2 separate regions of the Homo sapiens genome follow, and region 2 is linked to region 1. The links are contacts of gene promoters, found by promoter capture Hi-C in human tissues and cell types (Jung and others, 2019). All regions are on one chromosome and are shown on one strand. The core of a region is centred on a gene start or on the middle of the fragment in contact, and the rest is flanking DNA. Distances in the headings are between cores, read along the strand shown. Region 1 overlaps KANK3 (KN motif and ankyrin repeat domains 3). Region 2 holds the start of ANGPTL4 (angiopoietin like 4).

What was found. The method cuts DNA at HindIII sites, captures the fragments that hold promoters and counts their contacts. A contact is called where the count stands out against the background at its distance.
Region 2: a contact is called between the fragment with the promoter of ANGPTL4 here and a fragment that was not itself captured in region 1, in 4 of the 25 tissues and cell types used here (bladder, liver, pancreas and 1 more).

Annotation. Positions count from the first base shown.
Region 1 is chr19:8,324,408-8,329,399 of GRCh38, reverse strand. It overlaps KANK3 (KN motif and ankyrin repeat domains 3), which reads left to right. Exons shown (of 11, transcript NM_198471.3): 8 at 4,304-4,449; 9 at 4,570-4,770; 10 at 4,853-4,951. Among named protein-coding and RNA genes, the nearest start is that of RPS28, 5.4 kb to the right of the region's middle. The HindIII fragment of the contact is 8,731 bases long and covers 1-4,992 here.
Region 2 is chr19:8,361,379-8,366,370 of GRCh38, reverse strand. It overlaps ANGPTL4 (angiopoietin like 4), which reads right to left and starts at 2,216. Exons shown (of 7, transcript NM_139314.3): 1 at 1,732-2,216; 2 at 307-417; 3 at 52-169. The coding sequence starts at 2,049. RefSeq lists an enhancer at 2,550-2,599. The HindIII fragment of the contact is 14,542 bases long and covers 1-4,992 here.

The DNA.
Region 1 (4,992 bases), core at 905-3,404:
TTCTCCTGCCTCAGCCTCCCGAGTAGCTGGGATTACTGGCAAGCGCCATCATGCCCGGCTAATTTTTGTATTTTCAGTAGAGACGGGGTTTCACCATGTTGGCCAGGCTGGTCTTTAACTCCTGACCTCAGGTGATCTGCCCGCCTCAGCCTCCCAAAGTATTGGGATTATAGGAGTGAGCAACCGCACCCAGCCGGCACTTGTCAATTTCCTTTTTTTTTTTTTTTTTGAGATGGAGTCTCGCTCTGTCACCCAGGCTGGAGTGCAGTGGCGCCATCTCGGCTCACTGCAAGGTCTGCCTCCCGGGTTCATGCCATTCTCCTTCCTCAGCCTCCCCAGCAGCTGGGACTACAGGTGTCCGCCACCACGCCCGGCTAATTTTTTTTGTATTTTTAGTAGAGATGGGGTTTCACCGTGTTAGCCAGGATGGTCTCGATCTCCTGACCTCGTGATCCGCCCACCTCAGCCTCCCAAAGTGCTGGGACTACAGGCGTGAGCCACCGCGCTCGGCCCACTTGTCAATTTCAACATCCTCCCCCATGATCCCTGCAACCTCCTGGCTGCTCTCCTTCCTTGACCTTGACTCTGCCCCACATCAGCTTTACAGGTATAACATCAGCCCCAGACCTTGATGTCCCTAATAGTTGTGCCCGTTACAGAATCTCACTTCTCAGCTCCCCACTTCCCGACCCTCACCTCCCAGCTTCTCGGCTCACAGGCTCCCATTCCCCAACTCCAGTAATCCTTGGACCTTGCGGGGACAATTACCCACTGCTCCCTCTCCGTTTCACTGCCCCCACCCCTTGTCTCTTTGCCTCTGTCATCCTCCTTCAGCCTGTTGTGGATTCTTCTCCATACCCCTCTCTCACCCGACCCTACCTGCCTGCCTGACAAACCCACAGCAAACCGTCAAGTGTTGAATAAATGCCTGCTCCCACAGAACTTTCAGGAATGTGTAGTTTTGAGTGTGTGTGTGTGTGTGTGTGTGTGTGTGTGTGTGTGTGTGTGTGTGGTGGGGGTGGTGAGTGAAGAGTGGAGAGAGACGATTATCAAGTAAAAACGTGAAATAATTTCAAATGCTAGTAAGGGCCGTAGCAGAAGACAACCAGGGGATGAAGTCAACAAAGGGTGATTCTTTTTAAATTTTTTTGTAGGCATGGGGTTTCACCATGTTGCTCAGGCTGATCTCCAACTCCTGGGCCTAATTGATCCTCCCTCCTCAGTCTCCCAAGTAGCGGGGATTACAGGCGTTCTCCACCACACCCGGCTAATTTTTGTATTTTTAGTAGAGATGAGGTCTCGCTCTGTTGTCCAGGCTGTTCTCGAACTCCAGAGCTCAAGTGATCCTCCTGCCTTGGCCTCCAGTGTTCTGGAATTATAGGCGTAAGCCACTGTGCCTAGCCAGGGTGATTCTTTAGTTAAGCAAGGTCAAGGTAGCTGCAAGAGAAAAGGGAGAGGGAGCAGGAAGATAGGTGGGTCCTTGGCTAGCCTGCAAGGACCCCACTCTGGTTATTTCTGGGTGCTCCTCCCTGACCACCTGACGCCTTACACGGTGTCTTAGTGGAAGGCATGGACACCCACACAGCATGCCACCCAAACAGGGAACGTCCCCCCAACCCCTTTTTACAGACAGCTTTGTTCCAGGCTGGGGTGTAGTGGCGTGATGCAGCCTCAACCTCCCAGGCTCAAGCGATCCTTCCACCTCAGCCTCCTGAGTATTTGGGACCACAGGCATGAACCACCACACTCAGCTAATTTTTTTTTTGGCGGGGAGCAGAGTGTCGCTCTGTCACCAGGCTGGAGTGCAGTGGTGTGATATTGGCTCACTGCAACCTCTGTCTCCCATGTTCAAGTGATTCTCCTGCCTCAGCCTCTCAAGTAGCTGGGACTACAGGCGCACACCACCACGCCTGGCTAATTTTTTGTATTTTTGGTAGAGACGGTGTTTCACCATGTTGGCCAGGATGGTCTTGATCTCTTGACCTTGTGATCTGCCTGCCTTGGCCTCCCAAAGTGCTGGGATTACAGACGTGAGCCACCGTGTCCGGCCAAATTTTTTAAGAGATGGGGGGGTCTTCCTATGTTGCTCAGGCTGGCCTCAGACTCCTGGCCTCAAGTGATCCTCCTGCCTTGGCCTCCCTAAGCATTTGGGTGTACAGGCGTTAGTCACCATGCCTGGCCTCCATTTTTGCTGTCATTTGACTTAACCCTTTACTCCTCAGTCCCTCATCTCAGCTCTCCTTCCTCACTAGGTTATCCATCTCATGACCCCGACCCCGCTCCTTTCCCCAAGCTTCTCATTCATTTCCTTAAACTACCTCAATCCTCAGAGCCTTCAGAATGGCAGGAGACAGGGATTAAAACAGCCACTCCAGGAAATATCATCCAAACAGGCACTGTGAGGAACAGGGACCAGGATGGTAACAGAACTGATCCCAGAGGAAACTGAGCTCACGTTTGTGTTTCATTCAGGATAGGCAGTGTTGACCAGGCTGTTTTGCTTCCTAGGGCTGCCATCAAAGTATCACTGTGAGCTGCTTCAAACAACAGGTGGCCAGACTTCTGAAATCAAGGTGTTGGCAGGTTTTTTTTTTTTTTTCTGAGAGATGGAGTCTAGCTGTGTCACCCAGGCTGGAGTGCAGTGGCGCAATCTCGGCTCACTGCAAGCTCCGTCCCCCGGGTTCATGCCATTCTTCTGCCTCAGCCTCCTGAGTAGCTGGGACTACAGGCACCCACCACCACACCCGACTAATTTTTTTTTTTTTTTTGTATTTTTAGTAGAGACGGGGTTTCACTGAGTTAGCCAGGATGATCTCAATCTCCTGACCTCATGATCCGCCCGCCTCAGCCTCCCAAAGTGCTGGGATTAAAGGCGTGAGCCACTGCACCTGGCTTTTTTTTTTTTTTTTTTTTTTTTTACAACAGGTGGCCAGAAGTCTGAAATCAAGGTGTTGGCAGGTGTTTTTGTTTGTTTGTTTGAGACAGGGTCTCACTGTGTTACCCAGGCTGGAGTGCAGTGGCGTGATCTTGGCTCACTGCAGCTCCCAGGTTCAAGTGATTATCCTGCCTCAGCCTCCTGAGTAGCTGAGATTACAGGTGCCTGCCACCACGCCTGGCTATTTTTTGTGTTTTTAGTAGAGATGGGGTTCACCACATTGGCCAGGCTGGTCTCGAACTCCTGACCTCAAGTGATCAACCACCTCGGCCTCTCAAAGTGCTGGGATTACAGACGTGAGCCAGTGTCCTGGCAACCAAATTCATTTTGAATTGTTGCTCTTGGCCAGGCGCGGTGGCTCACACCTGTAATCCCAGCACTTTGGGAAGCTGAGGCAAGCGAATCATGAGGTCGGAGTTCGAGACCAGCCTGACCAACATGGTGAAACCGTCTCTACTAAAAATACAAAAATTAGCTGGGCGTGGTGGTGCATGCCTGTAATCCCAGCTACTCAAGTGGCCAAGGCAGAAGAATCGCTTAAACCTGGGAGGCAGAGGTTGCAGTGAGCTGAGATCGTGCCACTGCACTCCAGCCTGGGCGACAGAATGAGACTCCATCTCTAAATAAATAAATAGTTGCTCCTGGCTGCTGTGTGGAACCTGGAGTGGATTCAGAGAGAAGGGTGGAGGCTGGCACTGTTCTTTAGGGGAGCAATGATGGTGGCTTGGCGGGTGGTGGCCATGAAAATAAACATATCCTTTTATTATTCAGTCAACAAATGTTTAACTGAGCATCTACTATGTGCCAAGTATTGTTCTAAGTACTGAGGGATACAGAAGCAAACAAAACCAAGTCCCTGCCTGATTTGAAACAGGGACTTGATTTGAAATAGCCACTGGGCCAGTGGCTCATGCCTCTAATTCCAGCACTTTGGGAGGCTACGGTGGGTGGATCACTTGAGGTCAGGAGTTCGAGACTAGCCTGGCCAACATGGTGAAACCCTGTCTCTACTAAATAATACAAAAATTAGCTGGGTGTGATGGCACATGCTGTAGTTCCAGCTACTCCGGAGGTGGAGATTGCAGTGAGCTGAGATCGCACCACTGCACTCCAGCCTGGGTGACAGAGCGAGACTATGTCTCAAAAAAAAAAAAAAAAAAAAAAAAAAGATGAAACAGGAAGGTCCTTCACTGAGCAGATGGTATTTGAGCAACACCTTAGTGAGGGAGGAACCAGGTAGCTATTGTGGGGAGAACGTTGAGACCACCCCATATGCAGGTGCTGTGCCCGAGGCTTGCAGGGAGGTGAGTGGATCAAGTCGGGCCGCGGTGTTGGCATCTCCGTGGACGGCCCCCTTTTCTCTCCCAGGGGCCTGCGAGGTCAACCGCCAGAACCGAGCCGGCTACTCGGCCCTCATGCTGGCTGCACTCACCTCTGTGAGGCAGGAAGAGGAGGACATGGCTGTGGTCCAGAGACTCTTCTGCATGGGTGATGTCAATGCCAAGGCCAGTCAGGTGCGTGGGCGCCCCCACTGTGGCTCTCAGCCAGGAGTCACTTCCACTTTGGGAGTCAACCTGTGACCTCCCTTCCCTGAGCCTACCCCAGCCTGTTCCCTCTTCCTCCCCACTCCCCAGACGGGGCAGACAGCCCTCATGCTGGCCATCAGCCATGGCCGACAGGACATGGTGGCAACCCTACTGGCGTGTGGGGCTGATGTGAATGCGCAGGATGCGGATGGGGCCACAGCGCTGATGTGTGCCAGTGAGTATGGGCGCCTGGACACCGTGCGGCTGCTGCTCACCCAGCCAGGCTGTGACCCTGCCATCCTGGACAATGTAAGACCCCACAATGGGGCTGGCATCTTGGGGGGTGCCCATGGCTTGGCTCAGGGATCTGACTGTCCCTAACGTTCCACAGGAGGGCACCAGTGCCCTGGCCATCGCCCTGGAGGCTGAGCAGGATGAGGTGGCCGCTCTGCTACATGCCCACCTGAGCTCGGGCCAGCCCGACACCCAGGTGAGCACAGCTCTGGAAGAAACAAACTTTCCCAGCTGCAA
Region 2 (4,992 bases), core at 967-3,466, 37 kb before region 1:
AGTGGCGGGGTAGGGGTGGCCACCGGAGAGCATCGAGGGGCAGACACTCACGGTGCAGGCGGCTGACATTGTGAGCCGGGTCAACTGGCTGGGCCATCTCGGGCAGCCTCTTTCTTCGGGCAGGCTTGGCCACCTCATGGTCTAGGTGCTTGTGGTCCAGGAGGCCAAACTAGGATGGGACGGGAGGAGGGTGTCAGGTCCTGCCTGGCCCCACGTCCCCAGCCACACGTCCAGTTCTCACCACCTCCCTCTCAACCTGGGGTCCAGCTATCAGAGGGACCTTTTCTCCCTTGATCCTAGGGTTACCTGGCTTTGCAGATGCTGAATTCGCAGGTGCTGCTTCTCCAGGTGCCGCTGCTGCTGGGCCACCTTGTGGAAGAGTTGCTGGATCCTGCTGTTCTGAGCCTTGAGTTGTGTCTGGGGAGGGGTGAAAACCTTGGTGAGGACCCAGCTTGCCTACCCCAACCTCTTAATTCATCCACTCATCCATCCTTCCAAATCTCCATCCGCTGAGGCCAGGCAAGGGAGTCTTTCTTTTTTCTTTTTTTTCCCAATGACGGGGTCTCGTTCTCTCGCCCAGGCTGGAGTGCAGTGGTGCTGTCACAGCTCACTGCAGCCTCCAACTCCTGGGGTCAGGCGATCCTCCTGTTTTCAGCCTCCTGTGTAGCTGGGACTACAGTCATGCAGCTCTATGCCTGGCTTATTTTTTATTTTTTCAGACAGAGTCTCGCTCTGTCACCCAGGTTGGAGTGCAGTGGCGCAATCTTGGCTCACTGCAACCTCTGCCTCCCAGACTCAAGTGATTCTTGTGTCTCAGCCTCCCAAGTAGCTGCCACCACACCTGGCTAATTTTTGTATTTGTATTTTATTTTATTTATTATTATTATTATTTTGAGATGGAGTCGAGCTCTGTCGCCCAGGCTGGAGTGCAATGGCATGATCCCGGCTCACTGCAACCTCCGCCTCCCGGGTTCAAGAGGTTCTCCTGCCTCAGCCTCCCCAGTAGCTGGGATTACAGGCGCCCACCACCACACCCAGCTAATTTTTGTATTTTTAGTAGAGACGGGGTTTCACTGTGTTGGTCAGGCTGGTCTTGAACTCCTGACCTCAGGTGATCCACTGGCCTCGCCCTCCCAAAGTGCTGGGACTACAAGCGTGAGTCACCGCACCTGGCTTTATTTTTATTTTATCGCTATTATTTTTTTGAGGAGTCTCACTCTGTTGCCCAGGCTGGAGTGCAGTGCTGCGATCTCGGCTCACTGCAACCTCTGCCTCCCGGGTTCAAGAGATTCTCCTGCCTCAGCCTCCCAAGTAGCTGGGATTACAGGCATGCACACCATGCCAGGCTAATTTTTTGTATTTTTAGTAGAGACGAGGTTTCTCCATGTTGGCCAGGCTAGTCTCGACAGCAGGTGGAGGCTCCGTGAGCCACTGCGCCCGGTCGTTTTTTAATTTTATATTTATTTTATTTTATTTTATTTATTTTGTGTGTGTGTGTGTGTGTGTGTAGAAGAGACGGGGGTCTCGCTATTTTGCTTTAGGTGGTCTTGAATTCCTGGCCTTGAGCGAACCTCCCTCCTCGGCTTCCTAAGGGGGGAGCCCATCCCTTGACGCAGGGAAGCCCAGGGAGCCACAGTTGCGCACCCCGCCCCCACGCCCCACTCCTGTCCATACCCTTCCAAGCCAGGAGAGCCACTAGGGGCGCGGAGAACCAGCCCTGGGGACACGTACCTGCAGGCTGTGAAGGACCTCAGGGTCCACCCGGCTCTCAGGGGCTAACGGGAGGTCGGTGGACCCCTCGGTTCCCTGACAGGCGGACCCGCACGCGCTCAGGCGCCGCTCCAGCGCGCTCAGCTGACTGCGGGTGCGCTCCGCGTGTTCGCGCAGCCCCTGGCCGAGCTGCAGGAGTCCGTGCGCCAGGACATTCATCTCGTCCCAGGACGCAAAGCGCGGCGACTTGGACTGCACGGGTCCGCCCTGAGCGCTCAGTAGCACGGCGGTGGCGGCGCAGAGCATCAGGGCTGCCCCGGCCGTCGGAGCACCGCTCATCCTCTTAGGTAGCCTGGGAGCGGGGATTCGGGGACTCTCGGGGACGTTGGGGTTCCAGGTGCGAGGACTGGAGACGCGGAGGACCGGGGGTAAGACCCGCTTGGTTGCAGAAGCCGCTGGAAAGAATCGGATCACAGTCGTGTGAGGATCCGCTCAGCTCGGCTTCTCCCCGCCGCGCCCGAGGACGGTTTTTATAAGTTGGGTGCGGAGTGGGCGGAGGAGTCTTGGAGGCGGGGTGCGGGGAGTGCTGGGGGCAGGGCCTGTGGCCGGGGGTGGGGTCCTGTCCTCTGGAGGCCTGGTAGTCTGCGGGCTGGGGGATGCCCTGGGGATGCCAAACTGTGGCTCTCCCGCCCCCGCTCCAGGCTCAGGCAGGCCTTCCTCTACGAACCGTGGGAGACGTGACTCTTCTTTCCCCCACGGTGCCCGCCTCTAGTGTGAAATTGCAAGCCCCCTATTCCGCCCCCGCCTTACCCAGTGGCGGAGAGGGCGCACGCTTGAGGTCAAGACTTCCAGACCAGCCCGGCCAACATCGTGAAACCCAGTCTCTACTAAAAATACAAAAAAAAATTAGCCGGGCTTGGTAGTGCGCGCCTGTAGTCCCAGCTACTCGGGAGGCTGAGGCAGTAGAATCGCTTGAACCCGGGAGGTGGAGGTTGCAGTGCGCCGAGATGGCGCCATTGCGCTCCAGCCTGGGCGACAGAGCCAGAGTACGTCTCAAAATGAAAGAAGAGAAAAGAAAAGAAAAGAAAGAAAAGAGAGAGAAAGAAGGAAAGAAGGAAGGAAGGACGGAAAAAGAAAAGAGAGAGAGGTAGGGAGGGAGGGAAGAAGGAGAGAGAGAGAGAAAAGAGAGAGAGAAAGGAAAGAGAGAAAGAGGAAGGAAGGAAGGAGGGAAAGAAAGGAAGAAGGAAAGAAAGGAAGGAAAAGAAAAAGAGCTGAGTTCAGCGGAGCCCGGAACTCACCAAAAGTCCTTGCCTTGCGGAGGCTTCGTGTGACCTCCATCCCAAGACCAGGAGAGACTTTTCTGGGCTCGCATGTTCCTTCCCGTGAAAGGGTTCGTCATCGCAGCTGTGTTTATGAGATTCTTTGACTTCCATTTCTCCCCTGAGCCCGAAATTATGAGTGCCTTAGCGGCAGGACTTGGATCAGGGCCTCACCCCCATAGCCTACCCTCTACCGCCAGGGTCTTTAATGTCCTGAGCTTTGCCTATAATAAAGCAGGAACTTAGAGAACAGAAAGAGGAGACACAAGGAAGGGAGGAACCAGGGCGGTCGCCCATGACTGTGGTCGCAGCTACTTGGGAGCCTGAGGTGGGAGGCTCACTTGAGCCCAGGAGGTAGAGGCTGCAGTGAGCCACAATGGTGCCACTGCACTCCAGCCTGGGCAACAGAGTGAGATCCTGTCTCTAAAAAAGAAATAAAATAAAAGTCTGTGGCCAGGCGCGGTGGCTCACGCCTGTAATCCCAGCACTTTGGGAGGCCGGGTGGTGGGAGGGGGGGGGGGGCGGATCACCTGAGGTCAGGGGTTCGAGATCAGCCTGGCCAACATGGTGAAACCTCGTCTCTACTAAAAATAAAAAATTAGCCGGGTGTGGTGGCACGTGCTTACAGCTACTCGGGAGACTGTGTCAGGAGAATCGCTTGAACTCAGGAGACGGAGGTTGCAGTGAGCTGAGATTGCACCACAGCACTCCAGCCTGGGTGACAGAGTGAGACTGTGTGTCAAAAAAAAAAAAAAAAGTTTCAGACATGGAAGACCTTCCTCTTTCTCTCCCTCATTCATTCATTCACTCATGCACTGAACGAAGGTGCTGCTGCCCTCTAAGCCCAGCCCCTGTATGTTTGAAGTTCTCAGGCAGGTGGAGATACCCCAACATTCTGAGCCTGGGGTAGGGATAGAGTTGGGACAAAGGAAGTACTGAGTGAGGCTAAAGGGCTGGACCACATTCATTCCACAGGGCTAAGTGTTCATTCAAACTTGCACCGATCTCCTCTGCCTCTTCCCTACCCATTCCCCTATACCCTGTCAGGAAGGGGAGGCTGGCACAGAAAACCAGCCTGCCAGGAAGAACTCGGGGCAGGTTGGCTCAGAGCACTGGCAAGGAGAAGGGCATTGACTCAGCAGGGCTCCAAGCCAGCTCATTCTCTGGAATCTGAAACTGCACACCCAAGGGCTGACGTGCAGGCTGCCACTCATACACTTGGCCCCGTCAGCTGGGCCAGATGCCAGGACAGCAAATCCCTCCCAGCAGCAGTGGACAGGAAAGGGAGGGAGGAAAACCCCAGTGAGGAGTAGGTTCAGATGGTCACCGTCTGGCCTGTCCACCCCCAAGCCCCCAGCCTCTCTCTGAGTAGGGACACAGCTATCCCAGGCTATCCCAGAATGCAAGCTCCTCCTCTTCCCCACCTTCTTAAACTGAGAGAACTGATCAATTACTTCCCCAACCTGATGACCTTTTCATGATCTGATTTTCAGGGACTTCTTTGGAGCCATGTGTCCCACAGCACAAAACACATCACAGACCCAGGGTCTTAAGGGCACCTGCTGTGAGCAATCTACAAAAGAGTCTATACTGTCGCCTCAAGTTGGCTCTAGATTTTATTCTAAAAACTGCTCTTTATTTTTTATTTATTTATTTATTTATTTATTTATTTATTTATTTTTTGAGAAGGAGTCTCGCTCTGTCGCCCACGCTGGAGTGCAGTGGCGCAATCTCGGCTCACTGCAAGCTCCACCTCCCGGGTTAGTGCCATTCTCCTGCCTCAGCCTCCCGAGTAGCTGGGACTACAGGCACCTGCCACCATGCCCAGCTAATTTTTTGTATTTTTAATAGAGACAGGGTTTCACCATGTTAGCCAGGATGGTCTCGATCTCCTGACCTCGTGATCCGCCCGCTTCGGCCTCCCAAAGTGCTGGGATTACAGGCATGAGCCACCGCGCCCAGC